4 separate regions of the Homo sapiens genome follow, and regions 1, 3 and 4 are each linked to region 2. The links are contacts of gene promoters, found by promoter capture Hi-C in human tissues and cell types (Jung and others, 2019). All regions are on one chromosome and are shown on one strand. The core of a region is centred on a gene start or on the middle of the fragment in contact, and the rest is flanking DNA. Distances in the headings are between cores, read along the strand shown.

Region 1 (5,736 bases), core at 464-2,963, 65 kb before region 2:
CCAGTGAGCTGTAATCACGCCACTGCATTCCAGCCTAGGCAACAGAGCAAGACCCTGTCTCAAAAATAAAAAGGAAGAAAGAAAGGAAGTAAAGAAAAATAACAACTCAGTTAATATCAGGAATCCCTTTTTAAACAGCTTTATTGAAATATAATTCCTCCATTTAAAGTGTGGCTGGGCGTGGTGGCTCATGCCTGTAATCCCAACACTTTGGGAGGCCGAGGCGGGCAGATAACTTGAAGTCAGGAGTTCAAGACCAGCCTGACCAACATGGTGAAACCCTGTCTCTACTAAAAATACAAAACTTACCTGGGAATGGTGGCGGGCACCTTAATCCCAGTTACTTGGGAGGCTGAGGCAGGAGAATCACTTGAACCCAGGAGGCAGAGGTTGCAGTGAGCTGAGATCACACGCACTGCACTCCAACCTGGGTGGCATAGTGAGACTCCATCTTAAAAAATAATAATAAAAATAAATAAAGTACACAGTTCTGTGGCTCTTATTTAATGGCATATTTGCTGGGCTGAGCAACCATCGCCACAATAGGAATTGCTTCTAAACAGTGGCTTCCAGGACCTCTCATGGATCAGTATAGATTCAGTTCAGTTTCCCAATGTCTGTGTTTGCCTTCATGACCATATGCTGGGAATTAAACCTATAGTCATATAGTCATGTTCAGACGCTGTAAGACTCTGAGTCATCAAGGCACAAATGATATGCTCACAGAAGCAGAACATTATGCTAATTATTGGAAACTTTTTCAGCAACAGAGCTTCAGATTTTAAAAAGCTTTTCTTTTATTAAGCCCAGAATATAATAAGCGTTGTAATACAATAAGCATTGTAATAAGTTCAGATTTATTTGAGTGTGTGGCCCTGGCATGACGTGTGTCTGCGTCTGTCCACGTGGCAAGGTAGCATGTTTCCCACTGTGGCCTGTGTTCCAGGACGGGGAGGGAATGTGTGGCTGAGCCCTGTGGGATGTGCTCTTTCTACTCTGCTCATCTCCATTCCACTGAGATCCCAGCTGGGACAGAGGATCCCGTTTGTCCAGCATCTGATGTCCGTGGCTGTCGTGGAAGCAGTGAGGTCCATTCCCGAGTATCAGGTAGGTACAGTTCAGTCTCCTTCTATGTCCCTGGGATGCATGCAGAATCTGGCTTATTCTTGTTTATAGCATGTGCTTGCATAATTGGTGGCTGTAGAACCTCAGCCTACCCTTTGCACAGCTGGCAGCAAAGTGCTCTCGGAGTTTTCAGAGCACCACCAGGTGCTAATGCTGCTTCAGGCTTGCCTGAATGCATTCATTCCCCAGAACTCCCTTTCTACCCAGTTTTTCAGATTTCTCAAACAGCCTGATGAGGGCAACGCTTTAGTTTTTGGTTTTTGTTGTTGTTTATTTATTTATTTTAATTGAGACAGGGTCTCACTCTGTCACCCACGCTGGAGTGCAGTGGCACTATCTCGGCTCACTGCAACCTCCACCTTCCAGTCTTAAGCAATCCTCACACCTCAGCCTCCCGAGTAGCTGGGACCATAGGTACACACCACCACCCCTGGCTCTTTTGTTGTATTTTTAGTAGAGATGGGGTTTCACCATGTGGCCCAGGCTGGTCTTGAAGTCCTGAGCTCAAGCAGTCTGCCTGCTTCAGCTTCCCAAAGTTCTGGGATTATAGGCATGAGCCACTGCACCTGGTCATGTTTACTTATGTATTTATTTTTTTGAGACAGAGTCTCACTTTGTCACCAAGCTGGAGTGCAGTGGCGCCATCTCGGCTCACTGCAATCTCCGCCTCCAGGGTTCAAGCAATTCCCCTGCCTCAGCCTCCTGAGTAGCTGGGACTACAGGTGTGCACCATCACACACAGCTAGTTTTTGTGTTGTTAGTAGAGATGGAGTTTCACCATGTTGGCCAGGATGGTCTCAATCTCTTGACCTTGTGATCCGCCCGCCTCAGCCTCCCAAAGTGTTGGGATTACAGGCGTGAGCCACCACGCCCAGCTGCATGTTTGTTTTTTGTTTGAAGCACTGGATGAGATTTGATTGTTGGACTGGATTGAAGTTGTTCATCTGCATTTTCTGTTGAAAAGGGTTATTTGGGGACCTAAAAACCTTTCTCATTTCCTACTTCTGTTTACCAGACTCTGTGCTCTAACAGAACTATCCTTTATCCACTGTTGACCACATACAATGTGCAGATCCACTTGGGGCCATCTTCCCCCAGCTATTAGGACCCGTGTGCCTGCTTCCTTATTACTGTTGGATGTTTTGTTGTCAGTTATTAAAAAGACAAGCAACAGGGAACAATTAGCTCAGTGACCGAAGCATTTTCTTCCCTACTTGGGCTTCACTTCCCATAGCCCCCTCCCAAATGTTCCTGGAAGAATTTCATATGGGTATAAATAGGAGATTCCTGCCTCCCTCCCCCAGCAGCTCCTATGTCAGGCTAAAGAGAAATGATTGGATTGATTCCTGAAGCAAGATGTTAAGAGCGTGACTCTCAAAGGAGACTTGGAGGTCCTGTCATCATTTCATTGAAGAAAAGGTCCTTCTCACTGCCCCTTAAATCCCTCTGTGATGTATTTGCTGTGTATGAATTTTTGGTATTCCACAGATGTAGTTAATGCTGACGTCTCTGTTTCCTGTATTACATCACATCGCTGAAACGGACGCTTACTACCAGGCACCCAGCATCCTTGCATATCTGATGGTTTGGGGGCATCACACCATTACAGGGCTTCAGGTGCCCGGCCTTGAGCACCTGAGCTGTGCATTCTGTCTAGCAGGAAGCAATCAAAATAGAAAGTCCTGGCCAGGCGCGGTGGCTCATGCCTGTAATCCCAGCACTTTGGGAGGTTGAGGAGGGCAGGAGTTTGAGACCAGCCTGGCCAACATGGTGAAACCCCATCTCTACTAAAAACACAAAAAGTAGCCAGACATGGTGATGGGTGCCTGTAATCTCAGCTACTCGGGAGGCTGAGGCACAAGAATCGCTTGAACTCGGGAGGCAGAGGTTGCGGTGAGCCGAGATTGTGCCATTGCACTCCAGCCTGGACGACAGAGTGAGACTCGTATCAAAAAAAGGAAGAAAGAAAGTCCTGTCATGGGAGAAATTAACTCTAGCAACAAGTTAGTCTTAGGAAAATAACTAAAACAAACACTAAGCCGAGAACATTAAATGAGTCTGTTTGGTCTGTTTAGCTTTTTCATGGCTCTGACTTTGACCTTGGAGCCCCACTAGTTCCCTTAGCGAGCATTCTTTGAGGGCCTGCTGTGCTCAGAGGCTGCGTGCGCCAGGCGCTGGAGGCCAGGATGGAAGTGGGAAGCTTGCCTTCAGCGGTGAACGGGGTCGGGGGAATTTGTGTTCCCGTTCTCCTTAAGAAGCTTGTACCAATGTTCTTTCCCTCTTCTGCAGTCAGCTACCCAGCCTCACCTGTGTGATGGGACATTTGATTTTGAATTGGGTTTCTTTTTTAACATAGTCAAGTTAGCTGACACAGTGCAGCTACTTTGATTGAAATAGGCCCCTGTTGTTTGGATTTCACTTTTTGTGTGGCCTTCACTAGGACCCCAACTGGTCCCTAACCAGATGTCACCGTCAGCACACAAATCATGACCACCCTCCCCAGACCCAAGGCGGCCTCGCTGGGATGCAGGCATTCCTTCCGGAACTCGCCTTGGGCCGCCCATTCTCACTCCTGCTCTTTCTTCTGTCCATGAAGTCCCCCCGGGCCCCGCACCCTCCCTCCACCCACACACCCCTACCCCTGCTCTCTTCTCTGCTTCTTAAAATTCTGTTCATCCTTAAGGCCCAGCTCCAGTGCCATTCTCAGACCCTCCAGCTACTTCCAGCTCTTTCCTCCAGCACTGTCCAGCACTTGCCATGTTGAAGCCTCTTTTAGGGTATCCACCACGTGTGGCTTTGAAGAGGAGTGATGTGTGCACCTGTTCCGTCTCCCATGATGTTAGCAGCTCTTCAAAAGCAGGATTTGTTTCATTTTGGTCTTTTTTTATGTGGGAGGATCACAGCAGCTGTTGGAATAAATGATTGAGAAAATGAAAAATGAGCACACAGTCCTCCTCTTCATGTGGAAATGCTGGTCCTGTTTACCTGCGTGAGAACCCAGAGTTTCATGAGCTGCTTCATGAGCCGAGGAGATCTGAAGCCATGAAGGCGAGCTGGAGCCCAAGTGCAGGGCCCGCCCAGGCACCAGCTGCCACGCACGTGGCGGAGGAGCTTGACAGCTCTGGGAACTCTGCAGGTGTCCTCCCGCCGGCGAGGCAGGGGCTCATTCCCCTGGCCATGTGGTGGGCACAGGGGGATGTGGGAAGGCGAGAGAGGGGAAGGAAAGGGAACTGGGGGCAGTGATGAAGAGCAGAGCCTCCTAGACACAGGTTTCCTAGAGGAGACTTTCTCAGCCCAGTGCTATTGATATGTGGGCCCTGGCATGTTTGTCGTGGGGATGTCCTGTGCCTTAAAGGATGTGTGTCAGCATTGCGGCCTCTACTCTCTAGACGCCGGTAGCACTCCCTCAGGCTGTGACAACCAGGGAAGTCTCCCAGTATCGCCAAATCCACCCCTCTCCCACTGAGAACCCCCGTTCTAGAGAGAAAAGAAACGTGAAGCTGTTGATCAGTTCTGGGTCATTGCGCACCCCCCATGCTTGGTTTACTTAGACTTTTTGTTCTCCTGTGCTCCTATTCCTGTATTTTTTCTCTCAGCCTAAACTACTGTTTTAGGGCAGATGAGCTTCCAATATGCTCTAACGGGCCGAAGTCAAAAGAAGGCCTGTTGGAAGGAGGAAGGGATTTCATGGAAGCAACAGGCCGCGTAGCATAGGATTCCTCACCCAGGCCTGGTGGCAGAAAGGTTTGAATTTTAGCTCCGTGGCTTTCAAGTGCTATAACCTCAGGCAAGCCACATAATTTCTCTAAGCTTCCGTTTCTCCCTCTGTTCCCTGGGGATGCGCTAGCACCAACACATAGGCTGGGTGTGAGTAACACGTAGACTAATGCTGAGAAGGTGCTTGGTGCCATGCCCGGCCTGCAACGTGGGAAGACCAGCCCCGTGGCCCTTGGAGGCCATCAGCTACTCTCTGCTCCCTTAGCTTTATTTTGCTGAATGTTCTCTTCCAGCCTTGCATCTCCAGACAGGCTTCCTTTACCCACACATGGCACAGCCTGGCTGCCAGCCCGAGGTCTAAAAGACCTGGTGGTTCTGACACCCACTCGGCTAGCCCCGTCTCTGTGTCCCAACTTCAGAGTCACAGTGGATAGGCAGAGGCCTGGGTGGCCTTGTTCGAGACACTGTCCAGTGTTGGTCCATTCTGTAAGCTGATGACAGGGAGAGCCCCCCCACCCCCAGGCCACACCATTCAAGACGCAGAGGCAATAGGCCACATGACAAGTCCAGTTCCATTACCCAAGATGACCATTAGCAGTTCTGCGAGGCTTTCGCTAAGGTGAATTTCTCCTCTGCATCTTCACAGCATTCTTTTTTTTTTTTTTTTGAGACAGAGTCTCGCCCTGTCACCTGGGCTGGAGTGCAGTGGCACGATCTCGGCTCGCTGCAACCTCCGCCTCCCGGGTTCGCACAATTCTCCTGCCTCAGCCTCTCAAGTAGCTGGGATTACAGATGCACACCACCACACCCAGCTAATTTTTTGTATTTTTAGCAGAGATGGGGTTTCACTATGTTGGCCAGACTGGTCTCGAACTCCTGACCTTGTGATCCGCC
Region 2 (5,211 bases), core at 1,164-3,663:
TAGGGTCCGCTTCCAGCCCCCTCCGCTGCCGGGTGCTCCCGGGTCAGCCCGCGCCTGGCTCCTGGGCCGGGGAGCCGCGGGGCTGGAGGCCGCGCTTGCAGACCAGCCCTCTGCGCTCCACCGGGGAGGGGCCGAGAAGCGCAGCTCCAGACCCAGCGGCCAGCACAAATAACAGGCTTGGCAGAGGCGAACGCAAAAGGTCGAGCTTTCCGATTTCGAGTAGAGTGCCTGGTGGGGATGGCGCTATGGAAGCGCCCTGCGGCCTAGGGACACCTGTCGCCTGCTCTGCCCCGACCGTCCGGCGCCCTGCGGCGGAAGTTGTCTCCCTACCTCGGCACTGGCTCCCGGGGCTCCAGAGGCCGGCGCAGCCCTCCCAGCTCCTGGGCCCAGAGGACCCACCAGAACCCTGAGCAGCGCGCCTCCCAGCAAAGAGTCAAATCCTTCGGGCCAGGCCGCAGCGACCCCGCTGGGAGCAGAGGCTCTGGAAGACGCGGCCCGGAACGCTTGGGACGCCAAAAACGCTCAGACCTGCTGCTCGGAGGTGCCTGGCCGGGCAGCCACTGTCACCAGCGGCAACCGGCGTGGGCGGCGGGGCAGCCCACCCAGCGCGCCACTATTTCTTCCTGTTCCGAGTCTTCCGCACCGCGGGTCCCAGCGCCCCTGGCCCACTGGCACATTTTCAATCCTGAAAAGAACGGCAGCGCTCAGCTCTGTCTGCCATTTTCGAATTAATCGGACCCCTCTCTTTCAGCCGGGTCTCAGCTCAGCAACGGCGGGGGCGGGTCTCTCCTGCCCGGACTTCCCGCACCCCAGCCTCACGAGAGGGCCCGGCTCAGCACAAGTGTTCGCTCTGTGGCCTCAGCCTGCAGTGCTTGGGCCTCACCGTGATCCCCGCTGACTCGCAGCGCCTGAAGCTGACCCTCCTTCACCTCCTCCAGAAGAGACAAAAAGAGGGAGGAATGAAGGAAAAATAAAGGGAATCGTAGAAAGAAAAGGAGGAAGGGAAGGAGGGATAAAGAAAGGAAGGGATGGGGAAAGAAAGAAAGCAAAACCAGAGTGAACTTCCAAAGAAAGGAAGGAAAGCAGAAAAGGAAAGAAAACAAACCAATGCATTGGCAAAGGAAGGAAGGAAGGAGGGAGGGAGAGAGGGGGCCAAGGAAGGAAGGAAGGGGAGAATGAAAGAAAGAGGAAGAAAGAAAGAAAAAGAAAGAGAAAGAAAGAAAGAAAGGAAAGAAAGAGAGAAAAAAATCCAAACCAAACCAGAATGCACTGGCGAAGGAAGGAAGGAGGAAAGGGAGAAAGAACAAAACCAGAAAGAACTCGCTGGCCGTGCGGGCTGGGGGACTGCCTGCCCCTGGAACAATTCGTAATTCGCCCTCACCCAGCCCTGGACCAGGAGAGGGTTTGGTCGCCTGGGCCGCCAAGGCCCTGGCCCCTCGCCCCAAGCCAGCGCCGAAGCCGAAGACCCTCACGCAACCTCCCTCAGACGCCCCAGCTCTGGACGCCAGGCCGCGGCAACCCCTCTGGGCGGGCTGGCTTGCGCTTCCCGCCTGGGCCGGGGCCGCCGGGCTCCCCAGCGTCCCCGGCCGCCCACCTGAGGCCTCACCTTCGGGGAAGACGGCGCGCATCTTCAGGTAGCTCGTGGTGAGGCGGATGATGGACGCTTTGTCCAGCTGCGAAGTGATGGCCGACGGCAGCGGGAGCAGCTTGGCAAGCTCGTAAAACTCGCCATTTTCCTTCTCCCTCCTGGTCTTGGCCGCATTCTTGGACTTCTCCTTCATCGCGCCTCGGCTCCGGGCATATTAGACCCGGCCGTGCTCCAGGCCCGCGGAGCCCCGCTCGGGCTGCGGCGGCGGGGATGGGGAAGGGGGAGCCGGGAGCCAGGTGAGTCCGCGGAGTGGGCCGCGGGCAGGTGCGGGGGGCCTCCCGGGGTTCCGAGACGCCTCCCCGCAGCCGCCGGGCCTGAGCTCCGAGCAACCCGGCGGCGCCGCCCGCCGCTGCCCGGAGCGCAGCCTCCTCCGGGCTGGACCGTCCTGCAGCAACCGGAGCCCCGTTCCTGCTCGCTCCTGTTTCCTCCCTCCTGCCTCTCCTGCCTCGGCCTTCCTGGGGGGTGGGGGCGGCCGGCGCGGAGGCGGAGGCGCTGCTTACTCCTTCGTCGAGTGCTCGAACCGGCTGCGGCAAGGCCCCTCCGGACCGGAGGGCGACAGGGGCGGCGGTGGCCGCGGAGCCATGGAGCGGGAGCCCAGCGGAGGGGAGCGAGTCGCAGGCGGCTGGGGCCGGGCCCTGGCCCGGGCGCGCTCTCCTGCCCTTCCTGGCGGCTCCCTGTGCCTGGAGACGCAGCGCCGGAGCCCGCGATGTGTGGCTAGGCGCAGCACCTCCGCTGTCCACGTGCGGCCGAGCCGCGTTTGTTTATGGCAGACCCGCCTTCGGGCGGAGCACTGGCCGCCTGGGTCCCGGAGGGGGGAGCGGGAGGGGGGAGGGACCGCGGCGGGGGCGGGGGCGGCGAATCTTGCCTCCGACCCCGCCGCGGCCCTGGAGTCACAGGCGCGCCTCCGCGTCGCTGCCTCCAGGGACTCTCCCGGGAGAGACCCGCGCGCTCCCGGGTTCGGGGAAGTCGCGGTGAGTGCACACGGCGCGCCGCGGGGACCCGCTCCTGAGCGCCGGTCGCCGGACCCCGGAGCTAGGATGGGCGGCAGGGAGGGCGAGGGAAGGAGGGGTGCCGAGGCCGCCCCTGTGGCTCTCGGGAAGGTCACCAGCAGGCGCGGCCGAGAGGAGGCGGCGCGACTCGTTGGCCAGGCGCCCTGCCGGGGAGGATCGAGCCTTCCGAGGGTGCGCTGGTCCCGCGTCCTCGCCCTCCCGGTGTTGCAGGTCCAAGAGCTGAAAAGGGGAAAGCCGGGAGCCCCCCTCCCCCCATTACACACACACGTGAAAACGGCGCGAGTGGCTCCGAAGTGACCCTTCTGCCCTTTCTGTCCTCGAAACACTAAGGTGCAAAGAGATTGTCGCCTTCTCAGGAGGAGCGGGAGGCCGCAGGGGCGCTCAGGCCAGGGGAAGGGAGGGGCCAGGGAGCCCAGCCGAGTGGTGAGGCCTCTCCCAGGGCGCCGGCGGAAACAGGGCCCAACTGCCGGGGCGGCGGCAAAAGCAGCCCGATTCAGCGCAGCCGGAATTTTGAGGAATCGGCGTTGGGCGATTAAGGGCCAAGGTCGCTGAGCCAGGGTCACAGGGTGGGCGCAGGTGGCGCAGGTGGGGCCCATGGTGATGGGGCAGAAGGCAATTGGAGAAAGAAGACTCCGTTGCAGACGCGGCCACTGGGCATTCTGGACTCTCCTTCAGGGTCATTTTGGACCTAAAGAGTCCTTTTGTCCCCCCTCTGCCCTCCCCTGTCCGGCTCCCGCAGCCTGGAAATGGGTGTGCGGCCCAGGAGTCCTCCGCGCACCCCTGCAGCGGCGGTCACATAACCCCACCTCTTCCAGGAGTGCAGCTTTCCCGGCCCCCCAGGCCAGAGACAGGCTCAGAGGACGCAGGGCAATTCCTTACCTTGGCGTCGAGATCATGTGGGGACTCTCGGCCGTGTGCCACAGGCTGCAGAGCCGTGGAGCAGTGGGGTGCGTGACCTGGAGGTCAGCAGGGGCCGGGAGGACACCGGGCCGCGGATGGGGGCGCGGAGATTTGGGTTCTCGGTGTCACTGCTCTCGCCACTGGCCCGGGATCATGAGCCTGCTGCTCCGAAAACTCGCCGTCGGACAGCGACTGAGTATCCGCTTCCCTCCCCTGGCCCTCCCCTGCGCCAGGAAGGCCTGGCCTTCGGCAACCGTGCCTGCAGCAGGCGCTCCTGACCTTTTCCAGGGACTCCTTTGAAGGTCAAAAGTTCGAAGGCGTTCGAAGCCGAGCAGGCTCCCTCCAGGGGCTGGAAGGTGTGCGCAAACCCGGGCTCTCCCCCTGCCTGTCCCTAGCCCCTTGCGGAGTCCACATCGTGGCCAGGGCTCGCAGGCTTGGTGCTCCGAAACCGCGACGCCACGCGAGCCGGACGCACAGAGTAACAGCGCTTTCCTTTGGGGTTTCGGATCCAGGAGCGCTTTCCTGTTGCAGCGGCTTGAGCAGAGGGCCATGGGCTAGCGGCGCGGGTCTCCAATGCCCAAGCCTGGCGAGTCGGACCCACCTCCGCGCCCAGGATCCCGCTCCTGGCTGCGCTGACAGCTGCCGGCTCCGGGCCTCTGGGAGAAGGAGCTCCAAGGGGTTAGAGGCTACGGACCCAGCCCCTGCCGCAGCTTCCGCAGGCGGCCCCCTGAGCCCGCTCTGGCACCTCCTGGGCTTCGGGAGGATTTAATGCGTTTCTCACCCCCACGGCTTCCGACCCTCAATTATGGACCCGGGAGAATTCCTCCTGGGCTTGAAAGGGATTACCCAGATCGCAGAAACATGGCTAAGTGGAAGTGGGAGAAACCCGACAAGTAACAAGAACGGAAACTTTCCTCAAGGCAAATTTCCCGGATTTTACGGGAAAGCGCACTTATCTTCCCAGGGACAGCCTCTGTTCACGTGTCCGCGAGGCAGGTTCGAAGCGCGCTACGGGAGGCAGAGCAATGCCGTGTTTGAAGACTGGAAGATACGTGGGTGTGAGATACCTCCAGGCCCAACGCCTGCCCAGCAGCTGCCCAAGCAGACGTTGTGTACTCGGCTCCCCCAAGCACATCCTTTCGCCGTACACGCGCGCGCGCGCACACACACACACACATCCACACACACACGCAGCTGTGGCTCTGGGGTCCCTGATGGCACCACGCAAAGTACCAGAAGTACACGGGCACCGCACCTCGAGGTTTCCCAGGTAGGAAGGACAGGGATGCCTCTGTGGAATTGTGAAGGAAGAAACCCAACCCTTGGTGGGGGCCGTCCCGGAGCTCTCCCTGCTGGAGGGGGAGCCTCGGGCCCTCGGAAAAGGACACTTAGAGCTAATACCCACAGGCCGTATGTGGGATAGTTAGTATGAAGCTGGAAGCTCTGTTGGAATGGAAAAGTACCGGGCAGGTGCTCACTAGAGTGGTCAGGAGCATCGGCGGTGACCGCAGATTGGGACACCTCCTATGTCTTTCCCTTCTGGCGCGGGGAGAAGAAATTCCTGGTCCAGGTATTGGGCCTAAAGCCGAACGCCCAGCTCAGAAAGCCCGGACCAGCCTCGCGGGCCCCAGGGGGGAGGCAGAGATGGAGCGC
Region 3 (5,759 bases), core at 831-3,330, 87 kb after region 2:
AAGATTGTTCACCTCTTCTGCCATGCGAGGACATACAGAAGTCACCATCTACAAGGAATGGGCCATCACAAGACACAGAATCTGCTTCCACCTTGATCTTTTTTATTTTTATTTTTTGAGACAAGGTCTCACTTTGTCACCCAGGCTGGAATGCAGTGGTACAAATACAGCTCACTGTGGTCTCAACTTCCCAGGCTCAAGCAATTCTTCCACCTCAGCCCACTGAGTACCTGGGACTACAGGTGCATGCCACTATGCCCAGTGAATTAAAAAACATTTTTTTTTTAGAGATGGGGTCTCACTGTGTTGCCCAGGCTGGTTTCAAACTCCTGGGCTCAAGTGTTCCTCCTGCCACAGCCTCCCAAAATGCTGGGATTACAGGCATGAGACACCACGCCCAGCCCATCTTGATCTTGAGTTTCTTAGCCTACAGAACTTGAGCAACAAATTTCCATTGTTTATAAATTGCATCATCTGTGGCATTTTGTTATAGCAGCACAAACAGACTAAGTCACCCGCACAGAGATATCCATGTGTTAAAGTCGCTTAGCACAATGCCCTGCCCCCAGAGCTCCAAACATGGGGAGTCCTTTTTAGAAAGAAGTCACCACCCTATGATTTCATTCCTTTTTCTGTTTTGTTTTATGAGGTACTATTACATATTTTGTTACACAAACAAAACACAACAGTAAATTAAGCCCCTCGACCTGGGGACATAGAGCGCCTCCAGAACCCAGGCTCCTGTAGTCTTGTGGGCAGCCCACATGCGGTTGAACTTGGGTGCACCCACCTCTTTCACAGCTGCAGCCACGGCTCTACTCAATTCCCCTTCACCGCCAATCTGTCCTCACCAATCAGCCCTCTCCCCCCGAATCACACTCTTCCTCAAACTCAGTTTATTTGGCTTTGCCAGTACAGGAACTAAGTCAACAAGAGGGCTGGCGTGCAGTATGTCCTGTCAAACGGGCGGCTGCTAAATGAGAACACGTAATCCAAACATGCATCTCCGCAGTGAGTGCACAGCATGATCCTCCAACATTCCTTTGCGATTAGGGGTCATTGTGCTTCCCCACATTCGGGTCAGAAGATTCTACCCAGGAGGGAAGACCTGGGACAGGCACCAGGATCATGCATTTTGGGCTCCTGGAGGCACTGGATATCTCTGTGACAGGCACCAGGATCATGCATTTTGGGCTCCTCGAGGCACTGGATATCTCTGCTCACCTTTCTCAAGAAGAAGCCAAGGTCTGCAAAATGCCCGGAATGGAAATGATTGAAACTGACATGAGCTACTTCCCACTGGAGAGAACGCCCTGCTGCTCCATGTGAAAGACTGGGCCATGGGCAGGCTCACCATCTACACCCGGAATAAAAGCAGGAAGGAGGATGAGTGGTCAGGCATTATCTCCACACCAGACGGGAGAGCATTTATCTTCTCCTTTCTCTCATCTGTCCAACGCTGAGGGTTGTTTGGGCAGGGAACAGAGGGCACGTCAGGAAACGGCAGCAACAACCAGGCCAGCAGAATTGCCTGCATGGCCACGAACTGCCACTGAGTCCCAGCACAGCCTGGTTTGGCCTGAGAATTAGTAAATTCAGCCCTCCCTGACAGATACAGCCAAAGGTTTATTTATAAAATCGAAGTAAAAGAATGACATTTGGGTATTTTAATAAACCATGGGAAATCGAGAGTTCAAGTGGTCCACAGAAGGAAAAAATTAAAAGGCAGTGTGCCTCAATGTTGAATGAAATAATATAATATAATATAATATAATATAAAATACTAAGACCATTCGGGTGTTGGGGTGGATCAGAGCAGAGGACCCCCTCCCCCGCCCCACACTGTGCCACAGACAAGGACAATGACATAAAAGTTTATCCAAATCCTTGAGATAGTGCACTTTTGCCCATGCAAAACATTTCTTCTGCATCATTTACACAATGACATCAGATTTCCTTGTCGTTAGGAAGAAACAAAAACACTATATATTAGTTGTAATTTTGAGGTCAAAAGGAAATTTTTGGACAGATATTTAATGGTATTCAATTATTAGAAACGTCTGTTTGTAAAATAAGGTAATCATCTTCAAAGATCACTCTAAAATAAAAAAGAGGATTTAAAATATTTTTTCACATTTACAGCAAAACATCTTTAACCAAATAAGAAGCCGAATCAGCTTTTCATAATTATGTTTTTAAGTTAGCTGCCTCCAACCCTTTCTGGAACTAGGCAGGGCATAATAAATACGACCTATTTTGAAGCTAAATCTGGAAAATCTGACAGGAAGCCTGCTGGGTGGGACCTGGACCGCCATAGGTGTTCAGCAGAGGACCTAGTGATGGTTGTGTCTGTGTGGCATGCAAAGAGCAGTTTGCAAATTTGAAAAAGATGAAAAAGCAGAGTGAAGATGAACCCATCCAATCCACCATTTGCTTTCAGTCTTCCAAGACCCTGATTGCACCTCTCTGGATTCCACTCAGATCAGACGACATCCAGGAAAACCCAAAGCCAGTTTGTTCATCGAACACCTCACAGGTGCAGCCAGGAATGCATTCTCGGGCCAGATCGGTCGAATTCATTCTCTTGAAAACGAAGCCCCCTCCTCTTCCTTAAACTACCCTCCACCAGAGTCCCACTGTGGCCCTCTCTGTCATGTTCTCTTGGGTGGGTAAGGGACATCTCTGCTTGGCCCTTGCCTTATGTGTGAAATTCTGCTGGAGAGTAGCCAGGACTAACCTCACTCTGTATCACTAAAAGTCGCAGGGAGGAGAGTCCGTGGCAGATGGGAGAGGCTGTGGATGGGATTAGTTACAGGTAGAATGCAGATTGCAATCATCTGCATGTTTTTCAGGCAAGGCCGAAAGCTGGAACACCCATCCATGGATAAGCGGTTATAAACAATGATCAGTGAAGGAAAGGGGATGGTTTCATCCTGATAAATGCATGGCACATAAGGAAACAATGGAAGTGAGTGCTTGGAATTTTGCAGATAGAATCCAGTACATTTTCGTCTACTCAACCCACGCTTTCCTGCCAAAGAGCTATAGCCCATGCCCATCCAACAAAAACACATCTGAGAACACACTGGACACCTTTTAAACCCATGAAGGAGACAAGAAAGTTGGTGCATTAAGGCTTATAACAAACGTCGGGTCTGTGGAACCATTAATAAAAACCTAATTGCCTTCAGCGTGGATTTGTCCCACTGTCTTACTCTGAGTTGAAAAATCTAATAAAAGAAAATATAGCCCTAAACGTGCAGACCATGTTACCTACCGTTACCTACAGTCCTAAAGGTTTCTTTTGTCAGGAAGCCCCAGGGAGTTCACAAAAATAAATGAAACCTAGGGGGAAATTAAGCTTGAGAGAAAGTTATTGAGGAGATGGGATATGGTAAGAACGTTCTATGTGGCAGTCAGGAATGCTAGGTTGACAGATGTAGCTAATTCTGAAAGAATAACTTCCTATTTGAATAACAAGTAAAAGGTGTTTAAAGAGAGAAAGGTTATAGTTTACTTCAGCAGGTACAGCTTCTGGGGAGTGTTACATAAATATTGTTTAAAAGCAATGTGTTGTTTTCCTTCACTTTGACAGGTAGAAAGAACACAAGACCATTAGCGTCTTTCCTCCTTGGCTGGTGTGTTACAGGAATCAGGCTCTCCCAGGCACGTCTGCTATATTCAGGGGAAATCAGGAATTTAGGTTTTATATTTTTTATTTAAAAATGGGAGGCATGCTTGTTAGTTTGACATTTGGTTTGGCTTTGAACTTTTCAGAGTTTTAAAAGACAAATATTGGCTTGCTAGTGTTTATTGTACACTGAGCTTGATATGTTCTTTGGGGCCAGATCACATAAGATGAGTCATTTTCCTGGACAAGTCCTGGAGCAACAGTTCATAAGGAATATTTCTGTAGCTTCTTAAAGGGCAGTTTATTAGCCAGAAATAGTTAGGGCAAGATTCAAGTGGCACAGTCTTTTAATACTAATAAGAATAATCATAATAGTAGTAATAATAAGCAACTGTAGGAGTAGTGTCTCAGTTATCTGTTGCTGTGTAACAAACAACTCCAACAATTCATACCTTAAAACAACAATCATTTTATTATAGCCCCCAATTTTGTGCTGTGAATTTGGGAAGGGCTCAGTTGGGCAATTCTTCTGTTGCACATGGTGTTGATGGATGGAGGTCATTGCTGGTACCAGTTGGTTAGGCTGGAGGGACTGTGATGTCTGGCACCTTGATGGGGATAGCTAGAAGGCTGGGCTCAGCTAGGACTGTGGAGCAGAATGCTCCATCTTACTTGCCCAGTATGGAGGTCTCAGGGTAGCACTCCAAGAGCAAGTGTTCCCATAAACAAGGAAGGAGAGGTATGCCCTTTTATGACCCAGCCTCAAAGTCACATTCCTATATCCCAGTGGTCAAGGCAGTTAGAGTCCACACAGATTCAAGGGACAGGAACATAGATTTACTCTCCCCTCCATCCCCCCCACCTGAAAAGAAAGAAGTGCAAAAGGATTTTTAACCCATTTGAAAAACTACCACAAGTGTTATAGTAATAGCTAACATTGATTGAATGTTTCCCATGTGCCAGGCAAACTCTGTGAACTTTACTTGTATTAAGTTACTTAATTCTTCAACAATCCTATGAAATAGGTATAATATTCTCCTTTTTATTGACAAAAAAACTGAAGAACAGAGTGGGGAGCTGGGCAATTATCAAGAGAATGTGATTGATGGAGACAAGCAATTGGGAATAATTAGGTCAAAGGTCCCTCTGTTTCCTGGAGCACCAGTTGGCCATGGTCGAGTTTCTGCCAGAATCACCTGGAGCTCTGTAGGCCCCACAGTGTGGGAGGAGTGAACTGGGGTGGGGGAGGTCCCCCTAGACCCACTTGGCCCAGGCTAGAGCTTGCACATATATTTGTTCAAGGAATAAATAATAAGGAATAAATGAATGAATAATGTGTCTAACACACACAATCTGCTTGGTTGGTAAGATTTGGCTAACTGGGAAATTAATTGTTTTCATGAGCACTCTGGCGAATGTCTGGGTTCCTCACCTTCTTCCTGGCCAATAGAATCTCCATTCTGTTTCAGTGTTGGGCAAGCCCAGGGGAGGGTCTTCTCTAGCCCCAGGGGATGAATCACAGCAGGGGGATCCTGGGCCTCCTTGCCAGTCATTGGTCTAGTGGTGAGGATATGACCTAGTTCTGGATCAACAGACCAAGGAGAACATGCTGGAATTTCTGGGGAAGATGTTCTTCCCTAACAAAAGGTGGCCATAGGGTAACCAACTTGTCCCAGTTAACTTGGGACTTTCTAGTAACCCCTCAGCCTTGGGCAAAGGGAGTTGGCTCGTCACCCTATGTGTTCCTGTTTGAAATGTTGTTGCATCTACAGCTTTAGAGACATCTTCTGATCATGAGGTCATGAGTTTAAAGATGAAAATCTAACTTACTGTGACTAGCCAAGCAGAAAAAGCTCCTTCCATGACATCACTGAGCCACACGACAGCAACCCTGGAATTTTCTGACTGTTGTTATGTGACTATAATGATAATTAAGTCATTGTCTTCACTGCTTAAGCCACTCTTAGTTGGGTTTGCCATTATTTGCAGCTGAAAGTAATCCTGATAGAATCAATAAAATGCCAGGGGAAAATATGCAGGGAAAAGTAAATGGAATAAGACCAGTTGAGTACAAGTCATGCAGAAAGCAAGATTTTGAGCACTCCAAGTTCTATATATAGTACACACT
Region 4 (5,482 bases), core at 215-2,714, 94 kb before region 2:
AGGTCCTCTTTGTTCCACTTTCAAAATGTGCAGAACACATCTCTTTCTTCCTTCCACCAGGCTGTTTTCCATGTGGCAGCCAGGTGAATTCCTTTAAAATGTAACTTAGTTATCTCATCCCTGTTAGCTTAGAAAGGCTCAGTGTTGCTTCCTACTTCATTCAGTAAAAAATCCAGAGTTCTTACTATGACCTGCACACTTCCAAATCTGTCCCCCAACCAGCATAACCCTTATTCCTATTCCCCCCAACCCCATACGCACAGAGTGTGCTTCAGCCACGTCGGTCACCTTTTTGTTCCTCTCCAATCCCACTGAGGGCCTTTGGCCTTGCCGCTGCCTCTGCCTGGAATAGTCCTCTGTCACATGTCTTCATGGTATGCTCTCACTATCTTCTTTCTGAACAAATGCCTTATTGCAGCAGCCTTCAGGGACCACTTGAACACCCCATCCTTTGTCCTTCCTTGTACCCCTTATCTGCTGTATTTTGTTTTCACTGCATTGACACATTATGCATTTATGTCTCTCTCCCACCGCCTTGCACACACATACTAGAATGCCAGCTCCCTGGGTGCAGAGACAGAGCATTTGTTCACAGAAACAACCCCAGAGCCTGGAGAGGGCCTGGCACAAAGTTGCCGAATCATCTGTATCCTCATGGGTTTGCTCCCAGGAGCTCAGAGATCGCCTCTTTGGAAAAGTTGCGGCAGGGAGGCCAGAATGAGCCAAGCGTAACCCAGTCACACCCGTAGCTCGTCCTTAGTAGAAGCTAAGAATCCAGGGCAGGTCTGAAAGCACATTCACAGGGTGCTCTGAGGCTTCTAAACAGCTGTCCACATAGGCACTAACTTGGTATATCCTCCTGACAACCCTATGACTGAAGCAGCATCTTCATGAGAGATGCTTTCGATGGGAGAGGTTAAGTAACTTGTCTGAGGTCTCTTGGCCGTAAAGGGACAATATTGCACCAGCAGCCACATGCCTGACCATTTATGTAGCTTCTGACTAGCACTAAATTTCTTTAAGGTCTGATTTATCTCTAACATGCTTGTAAATTTTGCATAATTTTTACTCCATAATTCTGGTACATGTTTGTTTTAATATAAAAATAACAGTTGATCCTACCAGCTTACTCACTCCACTTTTTTGCTTCTTGGGCTAAAAGTGACACACCAATAAGATTGCATCCTGGCTGGGCGCGGTGGCTCACACCTGTAACCCCAGCACTTTGGGAGGCCGAGGCGGGTGGATCACAAGGTCCGGAGTTCAAGACCAGCCTGGCCAACATGGAGAAACTCTGTCTCTACTAAAAATACAAAAATTATTTGGGCATGGTGGTGCATGCCTGTAATCCCAGCTACTTGGGAGGCTGAGGAAGGAGAATTGCTTGAACTGGGGCCCAGGAGGCAGAGGTAGAAGTGAGCCAAGATTGCGCCACTGCACTCCAGCCTGGGCAACAGAGCGAGACTCTATCTCAAAAAAAAAAAAAAAAAAGACTGCTTCCTGCTGTCCCGTGTTCTCCGAGCCCTCCGACAGGCACACACCTGTGGATGATCTTAGAACTCATGTAAGCAGCGGGGGTCGTAGAGAAAATGAATCGGTACCTAAGGCAATGTGCAGAAGTGAATGGAGCAATAGAAAGAAGAATTATTTGATGTAAACTAAAGATCTCAACAACTCGAATCAGGTTATTTAATCAGGAATCAAAAGCGCATGAGGGGTTCAAGTCCAACTGCAAAGCTTGGGGTTCTGGAGGACCACAGATGCAGCTGCCCCCAAGGATGCTGAGCATGTGACTACACATGCAAATGAAAGGGAAACAAAACCAAATGGATGGGGTGATGGGCAGAGTTAAGGTCTAGACAGCATTTTGAGATCTTTGCTGTCCTCACCATGAGTCACTCTAGAAAGCCTGGGGGTCACATGACTGAGGGGACACAGCCCTTTCCCCAGAGCCTCTCCCTGCATCCTCTCGTTCTTGCCCCTGGCTGCTGGCTCAGGAGGCACCACGTGTTGTAACAGCTCTGTGGTTCTGGAGTGAGACACAGGTTGTTGGCTTCGTTACTTGGGGATGAATGTTTGTCATAGGTACTGGGCATGCCTCTTGACAGCCATGTGACCCTGGATGAGTAACTTCAGTTCTCTGAGCAGGTGCCTCATCTACAAATGGGGATTGTCATTGCTCCCATCAGTCTAAGGAGGAAATGAAATCATAAGTAGCAGCTCACTCTGGACTGACGTAGCACAATTGGCTGATGATCATGGTCGTCCTCCTCCTCCCCCCGCTCCCTTCCCTTCCATCCCTTCCCTCCCCCTCTCCCTTCCCTCCCCCCCTTCTCCTTTTCTTGTCATCATCAGGGTAAATCGAAGGAAAGAGCCATTTTTGCAGGTCTAAACGGTTGAATGTTAGGGATTTCACATGGTTCCACCTGCTACTTCTGCTCTGACCACTGATAACAGTGACACACAGATGGCAGCCGTCCCTGGTCACACAGATGCCAAAGTGAGCTCATTCTCCTGCTGTGTGACAGAAGAAAAGGCTGACGGTCCCCAGAGCGTAGCGCTGGGAGCCTGCGGGGTAGCCGCCGGGTGATTTACCAGGGTCCCCTTCTAGGTTTCACTATTGGCACCTGGTTAATGGGAAGGGGATTTAGGGACCCGGTGCTGAGATGGTCTTTTACTGTTCTTCAGAGCAAAGTCCTGTGAACGCTGACAGGTAGCGCACTCACCTTCTAGGTTTGAAAGCTCGCTTGTTCCTGTCTGTGTGGCTGGCCCACACCTAACTGCCATGAGGTTTTTTTCCGCTGCCTTTCTGATGGCTTCACAGTGGGAAACCTGCTGTGTCCATCCCAGCCAGCCCTTTCTTTGTGAAAGTGGTAAGAAGATAACCCCATTCTAACTTGGTTGTTCTTTTTTCCTTTCCTTTTGCAAAGAGTGCTTTTGCCGGGGGTGGGGTGGGAGGCTGCAAGGGTTTTGGAGCCATGGAAACTTAATCCTTGTGTGTCCAGCAAACAGGCCCCTTGGAGCAGCCGCATTCCATGCAGCCCCGTGGCACCCGCTTCCGTGGCCCTCGAGGGCCCACCCTCGAGGGTGCTCGGCATTCTGTCTGAGCCCCAGCCTGCCTGTCTGCCATATTCCCCATCACCCCCTATTTCTCTCACATGGTACTAACCCACCTAGAGTAGGTTACATTTAATGGGGTGAGAAAAATCCACACCGTAAGAGAAAAGTCGCAGGTGAGGTCAAACTGCTTCCTCCCAGGAGGGAAAATGATTTTTTCTCCTCTCTGGCTCCCACACTGAAAATTCATACAAAAGGGCTCTTTTTATGTTTGATGTATTGCCTTTAAAAAACAAACCTTTCATGTTTTTTCATTTTTGGTTCATACCTCTTGGCCGACCCAGCAGGAACTTGGCAGTTGGTGAGCAGCTTCTCGCAAATGCTGAAAGCGGTCTCACTGAACAGTCACCGCTGCCCAGAGCCCTGGATGTGTGGGTTGGTGTGTACTCGGCTCCGGCAGGGGTGGGGGTCTGCATGTTGTTGCCCCGGACATCCTATGTGGGGTTTCCTTATGCGATTCTTGCTACTTGGTATGTATTTGAATTGTTTTTACAACAGAGGACGCTTCTTAGGGTTACCTGAGGCACGGTGAGCAGGTTTTATTTTGGACAAGCCTATATGTTGCTGTTTTTTTCTATTATGATTCATGTCCCCAAAGATCTCTGCTGAGGCATATTTAGCCAACTTTAAATACAAGCAAGCTCAAACAAAGGCACCCCTGCATCTATCATTTCATTTTCTTCTGTTTACAAAGCACATTGTCCTACACCCAGGTTCTTTGCCAACACCACTGCCAAATCAACACAGATGGACAAAATGGTGGACGGAATGGCTTAAGAACATTTTGCTGACTTCCTCATTTTTTTTCCACGGAGAGAACACCACAGTTCTGCCATCAGCTGCTCCCAGAACCTGAAGTGCTCTGCAGGCTGACAGAAACACTGCCCTGCCAGAGTGGTTAATAGCAGCTTCTGACCTGCCTTCCTGGGCAGACAGCCTCCTGCCTGTCTGAGCCTTCACAGCCCAGATTGGAGCATTCCTGCGTCCGTTTGCGTTTTTCTCCATGGATGATCAAAAGCATAAGATCGTGGGAAAGGCAGCCATTGAGCCACGGAAGCGTAAGATCATGGGAAAGGCAGCCAGATACAGAATATGTCTATGTGGTTGTTTCCTGTCTTCAATCTGAATGAAGAGCCAAGGAAACACCATAGGTCCCACTTCCTAATCCTCCATGATTTTGGTGTGTTTGTTGGCTGTTTTCACCCTCTACATCAGCCAACAAACACACACACCAAAATGTTTTTTTGTTTGTTTGTTTGTTTGTTTTGAGATGGGGTCCCACTCCATCGCCAGGCTGGAGTGCAGTCGCACGATCTCAGCTCACTGTAACCTTCACCTCCTGGGTTCAAGCAATTCTCCTGCCTCAGCCTCCTGAGTAGCTGGGATTACAGGTGCACCCCACCACACCCAGCTAATTTTTGTATTTTTAGTAGAGACAGGGTTTCACCATGTTGGCTAGGATGGTCTTGATCTCCTGACCTCGTGATGGGCCCACCTTGGCCTCCCAAAGTGCTGGGATTATAGGCATGAGCCACTGCGCCAGGCCCAAAACGGTTTTTAATGATAATACCCAGGGTGGGCAAGGATATAATGAAACAGGTACTTTTAAGCCTTGTTCAAACCCCAGTGGGAGTGTACATTAGAGCAACCTCTTGAAAAGCAGTGTGGCAGTAGGCATCAGGAGTTGTAAAAAGTTAATATCCTTGACCCATTGATACCACTTCTAGTAATCTACCCTTAAGAAATGATCAGATACATCGGAAAGTTCATACTCACAAAGATGTATAGTTAAGTACTCTGTACACACTCACTCAATGGAATATTGTCCATCAGCAGAAAGACTATGGCAAGATACAGAAATGCTCAGACCACTTAAAGTAAAAAGCAGGTTTCAATAAATTATTAATTCGTAGATTAAAATCTTAAAACATGCATCTTTGAGAAAGGACTAGAAAATGCGTAAGGTGGCAATCGTTGTGTTAGTATGTGTGATGAAATCTTTTGTTTCTGTTTTCCAGACTGTCGGGATTACTCTCATAATTTTTAAAATTAATAAACCAAATATCCTGTACACTTCCAACCATGGTAAAGGGAAACATTACTTTGGTCTTCACTAATTTAGAATTTGTGATTGTCTTGATACAGATTACATGGAAATTTCCTAGTTTATGGACACAAACAAAATTATAGGGAAAATGTATAAATTACTTGAGTAGATCAAGCCCAAAGCCATATTCTGGTATAATTTTAGTTAATTAAATGTATTTAAAATAAGTAGAACTACATTTAAAAAGAATGTTTTTCACCACATCACTCTACAGTTTTCTGACTTACTGATTTCATTGTGTTTGTAACATTAAATGGA

What was found. The method cuts DNA at HindIII sites, captures the fragments that hold promoters and counts their contacts. A contact is called where the count stands out against the background at its distance.
Region 1: a fragment that was not itself captured here is called in contact with the fragment with the promoter of SIM2 in region 2 in 3 of the 25 tissues and cell types used here (H1 embryonic stem cells, dorsolateral prefrontal cortex and stomach).
Region 3: a contact is called between a fragment that was not itself captured here and the fragment with the promoter of SIM2 in region 2, in 3 of the 25 tissues and cell types used here (IMR-90 fibroblasts, aorta and dorsolateral prefrontal cortex).
Region 4: a fragment that was not itself captured here is called in contact with the fragment with the promoter of SIM2 in region 2 in 3 of the 25 tissues and cell types used here (IMR-90 fibroblasts, heart left ventricle and spleen).

What each region holds. Positions count from the first base shown.
Region 1 is chr21:36,760,383-36,766,118 of GRCh38, reverse strand. HLCS (holocarboxylase synthetase) reads left to right here. Exons shown (of 11, transcript NM_001352514.2): 8 at 947-1,107. Among named protein-coding and RNA genes, the nearest start is that of SIM2, 64 kb to the right of the region's middle. The HindIII fragment of the contact is 4,893 bases long and covers 1-4,159 here.
Region 2 is chr21:36,696,317-36,701,527 of GRCh38, reverse strand. SIM2 (SIM bHLH transcription factor 2) reads right to left here and starts at 2,413. Exons shown (of 11, transcript NM_005069.6): 1 at 1,607-2,413. The coding sequence starts at 1,781. LOC105369308 (a long non-coding RNA gene) reads left to right here and starts at 2,537. Exons shown (of 3, transcript NR_188246.1): 1 at 2,537-2,619. It overlaps LOC107985492 (a long non-coding RNA gene), which reads right to left and starts at 1,012. Exons shown (of 4, transcript XR_001755029.1): 1 at 1-1,012. RefSeq lists enhancers at 1-592, 593-1,186, 5,022-5,211. The HindIII fragment of the contact is 19,577 bases long and covers 1-5,211 here.
Region 3 is chr21:36,608,478-36,614,236 of GRCh38, reverse strand. No RefSeq gene overlaps it. Among named protein-coding and RNA genes, the nearest start is that of SIM2, 88 kb to the left of the region's middle. The HindIII fragment of the contact is 5,164 bases long and covers 1-4,662 here.
Region 4 is chr21:36,789,305-36,794,786 of GRCh38, reverse strand. All of the region lies in intron 6 of HLCS (holocarboxylase synthetase), which reads left to right. It overlaps LOC105369305 (a long non-coding RNA gene), which reads right to left. Exons shown (of 2, transcript XR_937700.3): 1 at 1-5,482. Among named protein-coding and RNA genes, the nearest start is that of SIM2, 93 kb to the right of the region's middle. The HindIII fragment of the contact is 5,536 bases long and covers 1-4,232 here.